2 separate regions of the Homo sapiens genome follow, and region 1 is linked to region 2. Evidence: promoter capture Hi-C in human tissues and cell types (Jung and others, 2019). All regions are on one chromosome and are shown on one strand. The core of a region is centred on a gene start or on the middle of the fragment in contact, and the rest is flanking DNA. Distances in the headings are between cores, read along the strand shown. Region 1 overlaps KMT2C (lysine methyltransferase 2C). Region 2 holds the start of KMT2C (lysine methyltransferase 2C).

The links. The method cuts DNA at HindIII sites, captures the fragments that hold promoters and counts their contacts. A contact is called where the count stands out against the background at its distance.
Region 1: a contact is called between a fragment that was not itself captured here and the fragment with the promoter of KMT2C in region 2, in 2 of the 25 tissues and cell types used here (H1 embryonic stem cells and neural progenitor cells).

The regions. Positions count from the first base shown.
Region 1 is chr7:152,358,656-152,363,697 of GRCh38, forward strand. KMT2C (lysine methyltransferase 2C) reads right to left here. Exons shown (of 59, transcript NM_170606.3): 2 at 1-20. Among named protein-coding and RNA genes, the nearest start is that of KMT2C, 75 kb to the right of the region's middle. The HindIII fragment of the contact is 6,489 bases long and covers 1-4,495 here.
Region 2 is chr7:152,434,330-152,439,187 of GRCh38, forward strand. KMT2C (lysine methyltransferase 2C) reads right to left here and starts at 1,674. Exons shown (of 59, transcript NM_170606.3): 1 at 1,297-1,674. The coding sequence starts at 1,457. It also overlaps the pseudogene FABP5P3. RefSeq lists enhancers at 101-170, 641-690, 731-960 and silencers at 1,441-1,500, 1,881-1,930, 2,021-2,310, 2,351-2,690. The HindIII fragment of the contact is 14,314 bases long and covers 1-4,858 here.

The sequences.
Region 1 (5,042 bases), core at 1-2,500, 76 kb before region 2:
TTTTCCCCCTACTTCGAGGTCTACAGAAAAAAAAAAAAATAATAAGTACATAGAGTTAAATGTTAAATTTTAAGGCTTAGACTTATATTCAACATAAGGCACAATTTGAAGGTATACAAAATAAGTAATTAGGGCATTTTTCCAGCATTTTACCATATCAAGTAGAAAATATCAGAGTTTACAGTCATTTTCTCCCTTAAATCCAGCACTTCCTTATACTCTAAATGTGAGGACAGACCCACATGAATATAATTGTGTCCTCATAATTCACTTAAGTATTCCTCACTCTGGTTTTGCCCCTTTTTTAGGTAACCTTCTGAAGTCTCCCTCTGTCTACAGTAGTGGCTTTTAACTACATAATGGGTTCTTCACAAAGTTCACATACCAGGTTTAACTTCTATATTTAATAAAGTTGATGTGAAATGACCAGATATATGTATTTTTAAAAGCTTTGTAAAAGGTGCTTTTGGTGACTGTGATGCAGATGACTAAAAAACAAAATTTTAAAAATTAAGCACGATTATAATCATGTCCACCTTACAAGCATAATAAAATTTAATTTATAAACACTTCAGGAAAGTAAAATAAAGGTAAGAGTCACAGCAAGGTGAAATTCCTGACAGAAAGCAATTGAAAAAAAAAAAAAAAACTAATGCCTTTAAATTCTTTGAATTGTACTAAATACGGTATAGAAATGAGTAAAAGAAAAATTAATAACACATAAGAGCAACAAGATATTACACATAAAAACTTGGAAACTGACAAAGCAGTACTCAGATAATGTCAGTGTTTTAAATTATTTCGCAGTATTTTAAACTCTTTAAAAGAAAAAGGCTGGGTAAGGTGGCTCACACCTGTAACCCCAGCACTTTGGAGGGTCGAGTTAGATGGATCATTTGAGTGCAAGAGTTCAAGACCAGCCTGGCCATCATGGCGAAACCCCATCTCTACCAAAAAAAAAATTCAAAAATTAGGCAAACATGGTGGCGTGCCAGTAATTCCAGCTAAAGAAAAAAAACAAAGAAGGGAGGGAGGGAGGAAATAGAAAGAAAAAATACAAATCAACTCAGTATTTAATTGAAAAACATAAAACATTTAAAAAGTGAAAAACAGCTGGCTGTGGTGGCTCACATCTGTAATCCCAGCACTTTGGGAGGCTGAGGCAGATATATCACCTGAGGTCAGGAGGTCACGAACAGCCTGGCCAACATGGTGAAACTCCGTCTCTACTAAAAATACAAAAATTAGCCAGGTGTTGTGGCGTGTGCCTGTAATCCCAGCTACTTGGGAGGCTGAGGCACAAGAATCGCTTGAACCTGACAGATGGAGGTTGCAGTGAGCTGATATCATGCCACTGCACTCCAGCCTGGGCGACAGAGTGAGACTGTCTCAAACACACAAACAAAAAAAAGGGGGGTGGGGGGGGGGGGACAATATGAAATAAAAGAATAATATGAAAAAAGAATAAAACAAAGAACTATGTTTTAAACAATAAGAAATCCATTTAAGTCTTGTTCTCATAAAAAAGTTAACCAACCTAGGCCAGGCACAGTAACTCACGCCTGTAATCCTAGTACTTTGGGAGGCCGAGGTGGGTGGATCACCTGAGGTCAGGAGTTCAAGACCAGCCTGGCCTACGTGGCGAAACCTCGTCTCTACTAAAAATACAAAAATTAGCTGGACGTGTTGATGCACATCTGTAATCCCAGCTACTCAGGAGGCTGAGGCAGGAGAATCGCTTGAACCCAGTGGGCAGGAGGTGCAGTGAGCCGAGATCACACCATTGCACTCCAGCCTGGGCAACAAGAGTGAAACTCTGTCTCAAAAAAAAAAAGTTAACCAACCTAAACCATGAAGGAGCTATAACATAATAATATATTAAAAATTAAGGTGACCAGCCGGGCGTAGTGGCTCACACCTGTAATCCCAGCACTCTGAGAGGCCGAGGCAGGCAGATCACCTGAGGTAGGGAGTTCGAGACCAGCCTGACCAACATGGAGAAACCCCGTCACTACTAAAAAAAATACAAAAACAAAAAGAAAAATTAGCTGGGCATGGTGGCACATGCCTGTAATCCCAGCTACTCGAGAGGCTAAGGCAGGAGAATTGCTTGAACCTGGGAGGCAGAAGTTGCGGTGAGCCGAGATTGCACCACTGCACTCCAGCCTGGGCAACAAGGGCGAAATTCTATCTCAAAAAGAAAAAAAAATTGAAGTAATCAAAGCCTAAATGGTTTTATAATTAAACTACTAAAAACTATCAAAAAGTCGGTCTTAACCAAAAATAAAAAAAAGGAAGTACCTGACTCAGAATTCCAACAAACATTGTCAAAAACTATGAATGAAAATAAAAACTGAGAACAATCCTATTGAATATAATCAGAATGCCAGGATGATTCAACATTAGAAATTTGTTAATGTTACATAACAAGTCAAGCAGTCAAAATAGCATCACTTCAAACTTCACAGGGGGAAAGGGGAAAGAAGGCAGAACTAAATAAAAAGACTACAAAACCTGAAAGATGAAAAAGGGTGAATTAGGGAGAAAACACTCTAAGGTGGATCTTATTGTTCATGGACAAAAAGAAAGAACATCTTTAGAATTTATTAAGTAGTTGTTTTTAGGCTGGGCACGGTGGCTCACGCCTGTAATCCCAGCACTTTGGGAGGCTGAGGTGGGTGGATCACGAGGTCAGGAGATCGAGACCATCCTGGCTAACACGGTGAAACCCCGTCTCTACTAAAAATATACAAAAAAATTAGCCGGGCGTGGTAGTGGGCGCCTGTAGTCCCAGCTACTCGGGAGGCTGAGGCAGGAGAATGGCGTGAACCCGGGAGGCAGAGGTTGCGGTGAGCTGAGATCACACCATTGCACTCCAGCCTGGGCAACAAGAGAGAAACTCCGTCTCAAAAAAAAAGAATTTATTAAGTAGTTGTTTTTAAATTTGATAGAAAACATTAAAATAAAGTGGAAAGAAGGGATAAGAAAATTTGATCAATCCAACAGCAGGCAGAAAAGGAATGAAAACAAATGGTACATAGAAAATAACATAAAAAGATAAATATAAATATGAATTTTCACAGTAAACATAAATGGCTTAAACTGTCATAATGATAAAAAAATTAATTTACTTGGATAACATAAGAGAACTTCAGATTACATAAAGCAAACATTTACAGAACAAAGAGAAATTGGTAACTAATCATTAGAGAGATATTAACATCCCACTGTCGGAAACTGATAGATGAAACATTATAGTTTGAAGCATTTTAAACAAGTATTTGGACAACACATTGAGCAAGCATTACTAGATTACTCTATCAATCTTCCTTTGTGTCTGACTCTGTTCAAACACAGTGGATACAGAAATAAATAAAACAAAATCCCTCCTGTCACAAAACTACATTCTAGTGAGAAGAGACAACAGTAAACAAGTATTACACATACAACATCCAACAAAAGAAAGCAAAGAAAAAGGGACTAGCTATTTTAAATAACAGATTTATAAAATAAATGTTTTAAAATAAAATTTTGTAAGGAGCCACTTTAGCACAGAACTGAAGATGAAGCAAACCATACAGATATCTGGGAGAAAAGCATTGCAGTAGAAGTAACAGCAAATGCAAAATTCTTGAGATGAGAGCAAGTGAGGGGGGTTAGAGGGACAAGAAGGATATACGGTGGCTGGGGCAGAGTCAGCGGTAGGGGGTAAGAAGGCATGAGGTCTAAGAATTTTTTTTTAATAGGATCACTTTTTGTTTAGAAACCTGTAGACCAATACAAGAACTGGGGACTGGGAGACTAGAAATCCTCGAAACAATCCCAACATGGCTGCTTCAAAGAAAATAGAGAATGACAAAATAATTCACATGCCATTATGGAGGTAGAGTTTACTTTTCATCTTTCTTTTGTGATTTTTCATAATCATAAACATCCACTTTTAAAGAAATTGGAAACCGTATGGTTTAGCTGACTTTTTAACTTAATCTCTCAGACCCATGTTTTGCTCTACTTTGAGTTTTTTCTCCACTATCTTGACCATCACTGTCTATGCTGTTGTTTGTTTTGGCACAACTGGCTTTATTTCAAGCTCGTTCTGTCTAGTTTATAATCTCTATCAACATATCAGTTATCTGCATTGCCCTACTTACTCCTTAAAAAATAATTTTGATTTTAATTTTTGCTTTTCAAATTTTTCTTCTGATTTCTATTCTTGGTTTTGGCACTAGGAAGACATGCTTTTTACGTTGATCAATTCATCAGAATTCCTTTCCTTCTGGGCAATGGACCAACTTATTGACATCATGTCATTTTCGAATTCTTTTATTTCATCGGTGTCCTTATTGCTGCTCATTGGCTTCTGCCATGTGACTTTTCTGACTAATCAAACACTATATTCTGAATGCAAAGATAATGGTCATACTCTTCAAAACCCTATCAGTTGCCAACTTTCATATTTAAACAGCAAAATAGATACATGTTTTATATTTCCATATTGAGTCAGATATTTCCAGTTTCAGTTTTTAAGGAAAGTTTGAAGTCTAATTACAAATGACAACATGAAGATTATTTATTTTAACCCTTCTTTGGGTTTTCTTCGTTCCCCTCTTTTTCCTGTCTCTTAACCCTTTCATTTCAGTGTTCTTCACTTCACTTTATTACCAAGAAATGTGAAGTAAAAGAATACAACTAACTTTATTTGAGAAAATTTTCTACCAAAACTTTATGTTCCATATTAATCTCAGAATCTGAAACCAACTTGAGTTCCTAAAGTAACATAGGAGACTTCTACATAAAGCCACATGGGAGTAAGACAGGTCAAAATTACCCTCCAGCCCAAACAACTAGGAAACCAGACAAATATAAGAAACAACCTTATTATAAGACACTGGGCAACAGGTATGGCGAAGGGAACAAAGGGAAAGAAACAGGGTGACCCCTACCATGGCACAGGCTTTCTGCTTGGCATTAATTTAGAAACTACCACACAGAGATAGGAACCCAAAATGAGAGCTGAAATGAGAAGACAGAAATCATAGGTT
Region 2 (4,858 bases), core at 424-2,923:
GAAGGCCCTGAATCATTTTCATAGTAAAAGGACAGCGGGGCAAGAAAAGAGCACATTCAAGTCAAGAGCTCAATGGGTTCCCACAACCCAGCTCTGCTATGCCTCAGTTCACGCTACTATTTTTACTACAAATCACCAAACAACAATACTATTACTAAGTGAATGCACCCGAACCAAAGAAACAGCCTATCCATAAACGTGCTGGCTTCCTTCACGTCCCAGCGCACCCTTCCACTCCCGACAGTTCAATGAGAATATCATCTCACGAAATGAGTAAGCACACACGCCATTCTACAACTTCGAGAGACATTCACAGTTCTTCCACGGCACACGCGAGAGCCACAGAAGCCGAGCAGTTCGCTGGCACTAAAACGGTGTCTTAATTTACAAGCAAAGCCGTCAAATAACCGTTCTGTAAGAAGACATTTCTGGTCCTCTAATAAGCTGGGGTCCAGCCCTACTGTACGCTCAAAGGCAGGCGACCCTATTCCCAAGCCCCTTACAGCTAAGACTTACGAGGGAAGCGACATTTACATCTGCACTCTCTCCGAATAAGTGCTCTTGGTATTCTGCCTTACGAGGGGACGCTGGCTACGTCTCCAAAACTTAGGCAGGCCGTTCCCCGAAGCTGGGGGATCCCACAGGACTTGTGCTTTCGGAGCCCGGGAGTGCGGTGCTGGGTGTTGGGGGAGGGGGGAGGAAGAAGTCAAATGGCTTCCTAATATATCATCAAAAGAAGAAAACACAGGTTTGGGACCAGGAAAAGTTCCAGGAGCAAGTCGCTGACAAACAAAAGCTGCACTCGCCCGGCCGCTTTCTTCTCGCCCCCAGCCCGCGCCCCGAGACCACCTGGCCCGGGCGTTTTGACAGCTCCGAGAGTTTCCCGAGCGCCGACGGCTCGGCGGTTCGCCCGGAGTCCGTCCGGGGACTACCTGGGCGCGCTCCGGGCTTGTTTTCTCAATGATCCAGCTAGGCCAAGACGCGGCTACGAGAAATTTCTCCAAAAGAAGAGTCGCGGAGAAGACCCAGTGAAAAGGCCCGACTGAAAAGTAAAGTGTGCGGAGCCGGGCGCCGGCGGGAGCCCGGGCGGGCGGCGCGGAGCGGGGGAGGCCGGGCGCGGGCGGCTACCGAGGGGCGCGGGGCCGGGGCCGGGAGCCGCCACCGCCCGCGGGCCCGCCCCGCCCCCACCCCGCCGGGGGGCGCCGGGGCGCGGAGGCCGCGGGGCGGGCGCCCGGTGACAGCTCCGGCCCGGCGCCGCCGCTGGCTCCCGGCCTGGCTCCCTCGCACTCAACTTACTTCTTTCTGGCTCTCTGGAAAGGGGAAGCGCCATCTTTGCGAGGCCGGCCCCGAGGTCTTTTGTCTGCGGCTGCGGGGCTCGGGGCCGGGGCTCCAGGCTCCTCGGGGGGTGGTGGCGGCGGCTGCGGCTGCTCCACGCTCTTGTCCTCCTCCGACGACATCCTAGTCACCAGGAAAGACACATGGATCCCGGTCCTCCTCCTGGGGGGCTCCCGCCGCCGCGGCCGCCGCCGCCGCCGCTGCTGCTCGGGTTCCTCCTCCCCGGCTCAGCCTCTCGCATTTCCCGCAGCCCCGGGAGCAGCAGCAGGTACCGGGAGAGGCGGCAACATGGAGCGAGCAGGACACGCACTCACACACATCGGCGCGGGCGCGCGCACCTCCGCGCGCAGGGGCCGGGCGGGGGGCGGCGGGCGGGGCGGGCGGTGCGGGGCGGGCGGGGCCGGCGGGTGCGGGCGGGCGGGGCAGCCGGGCGGGCGGGCGGCGTGAGGGGCGCCGGCCCCCGGGGTCTCCGCCCGCGGCCCCTCCCCCGAGCCGCCCGCGGCAGGAGGAGAAAGGGGCCCGGCGCGGGGAGGGCCGGCCGCGGGGCCCGGCGGGGGCGGCGAGGGGGTCGCGCCCCCGGCCGGCCGCCCCTCCCCCGCGCGTCAGGCCCGTCAGGCCCGGGCGGCGGCGGCGGCGAAGTTTTGACAGCTGCTCCAGTGGCGGCGCTGGGCGCCGGGCCGCGGCTCGCTCCTCACACTCGCTCTCTCACACACGCTCGCTCGCTCTCCCGGAGCAGGGGAGGAGGAAGTTTTGCGGGTGTGCTTGGACCCCACACACACGCCGCGCGACCGTGGCCGTCGCGCGAGGCCCGCGCCGGGGATCCCCCGGGGCGACCCGCACCACAGACCTCTCCAACTCGCAGCCGTCGCGCCCACACACCGCCGCCTCGACGGCCCCCGCCCGCTCCCCCACACTCGGCCCCTCGCCCGCCCCCCGCGCGCCGCCGCTGCCACTCACGGGCCTCGCTCCGCGCATGCGCCGCTCCCGCCGCCCGCGGACGCGCCGCCGCCGCTGACCTCACCGCCCCTCCCCCTCCCCCCCGGGTTCCCTCCCCCTGTGACGCGGCGGCCGGGCCCAGCCGCGACTCCGGCTCCGGCTCCGGCTCCGGCTCGGGAGGTAGCCAAGCTGTGGACCCAGAGATCCGGGATCGGGATCGGGGAACTGCGGGCGAGGGCGGGAGGGAGCCGCGGACACACGCCGAGGCGGCCGCGGTCGCCCGGCGCAGCCCGGCGCGAGGAGCAAATGTGCGCCCGCACGGCGAGGGCAGCCCGGGCTTCGCTGGTTCTCGCCGAGGTCTTTCCTCGTAGCGCCCACACTACGGGGAGGAAAAGGAATGGAGTCAACTTCGTTCGAATCCAACGCCAGTTAGTTTCCTTATTATAACGTCATTTTTTTTAATCCAGAAAAGGTTCATAAGGATGTAAGACGAAAAGAACGATGACAGCTCGAGAAATAAAACGGTTAGAGACAAAATAAGCCAATAAAAACCCAACCACTTGATTTTAACGTTCAGTGTGTTGTGATGAAGAGGCAAAAATCGAAGTACTTCTAAGCCACCTCTCATAATATGTAAAAATGGTAAAAAGAAAAATGGGGCTAGAATCCGCCTGAAAAATGCACTTTCTCAAGAAGGACAGTTACAAATATGGGATTCTGGATTTCTCAGGCTAATACCTAACACTTGGACGATGATCTATTCTGTGCTTTCCATTCACTATCGATTAGTTTATGAGAGTGAAAAAATTCTAGATTTGAATGGGGGGAAATAGTAAGACCTATCAACCATTTGTGAAGGATTGGGGTAAACTATCATTTAATAAGCATCTACTTTGGGCCTAGCGTTAAGAGGCACACTCTCATGTTGATTTCTTTTGATCTTCGCAGTGTAGTTTTAGTGTAAGGTAAAAAAAAATAGGCTCCTTTTCCAGCGATGTTTGCTTTCCCTTCTAGTAGCTAGGATGTTAACTTTAAACTGTGTCTTCTACTTGGGCAAAATACACACACTTTGATTCCCAGAGCCTATTCTAAATGAAAGCATAATTTTTTGAAATGGCTGAAATGAGGAATAACGTCAGATAGTCATTTGAATACCTTCAGGGTTTAATCCCTGCTGGCTCTTTCAAATTTACTAAATTTATAACCAAAGGAAATTTGGGATTGAGGAGGAGGCTGGCATGGTAAATGCAAACTAGAAATTAAAAGTGCCTGACGATTACACATAGAAATACAACATATATGTGACTAGTGATAAACATATGATGTGATCTAGTGAAAGTTTACTCAGTACAAATTTGAAAGCACCCTTTCTTTTTTCATTTTCTTCAGCACATTGTACTTTAAATAAAGTGTGCTTTCAAAACTGGATTATTGATCCAAATATTTAGCTGTGTTCCGTACTGAAATTAGAATAGGCACTTCCACGGTGAGTTTCACATGTACAAAATTATACATCAGGATAATTTACTTCCATACGCTTCTCCAGCACTTCTGAGAACTTAAGTGTCAGTGGATACAAATTGCAAGTCACTCCTGCTGGAGAGTTCACAAGAAACAAAGGGTACTAAGAGCAGAAAAGTGAGCCGAGTGAATGGAAGGGTAGAAACAGAGGTTTGTGCAGGGATGCTTCTGGATAGATGATGATGCAGGTAAGTAAACTCAGCCTGAAATCTCCATTCCTTTGGCCACTATGAGCAGGGAGTTGGGATCTGTTTTAAGAGAGCTGATAGCAGTCTCCTTGGCATGAAGTTATCATGAACAGAGCAAATCAAATATAACCCAGGATGCTGAGGAAGGATTCAAGGAATACTTATTCAACATAAATAAAGGTTTTCCAGAGGTTTTTCCGTCTCAGTCATCCAAATTACACAGCTCTGAGACCACAGTAGCAAAAATCTAGGAGGCAGGGAGCTGAGGTCCTTCAAAATTATGAAAGCAAAAAGGCAGGAGCATCTGGAAACAGTACCAAATACAACAGAAAAATATTAGAATGTGTACTTTCTAATAAGTATACATGTTAAATATGGGATTTTAAATTTAGGTAGATGTGTACTAACCTGTTAACCAATCATCTGCAAAGGGGTGAATTACAAGGGACTTTTACTGTCTAAAATATTTGAATATTTCAAAGCACATGTAGTAATCATCTAATCATATATATATATATATATATGTAGTTTTTAATGGGGAGGGAATGAGCATTGTTATCTTTGACAAAGAAAAACCAACATCTCAGAAAAATATAGGCAAGGAAGATTCTCAAAGCATCTAGCAAACAAGTGACAGTGAATAAAAATTCATAGTCCAATATTCATTCTTACTAATTGAAGGCCTATAACATGTGATTGTCTTTATTTAGAATGCACAGGTTCACTACTAAATGTTGTCTCTCTTGTTTTCCCATAAATTCCTCAGGGCTTTTTAGGAACCAAACTTTCACTGTTATAGAAGGACCACTGAAAGCTTAAATTTTAGATCTTAGAATTTTTGTGTTCATATTGTTATTATTAAAGTTGCACTGTAGGCT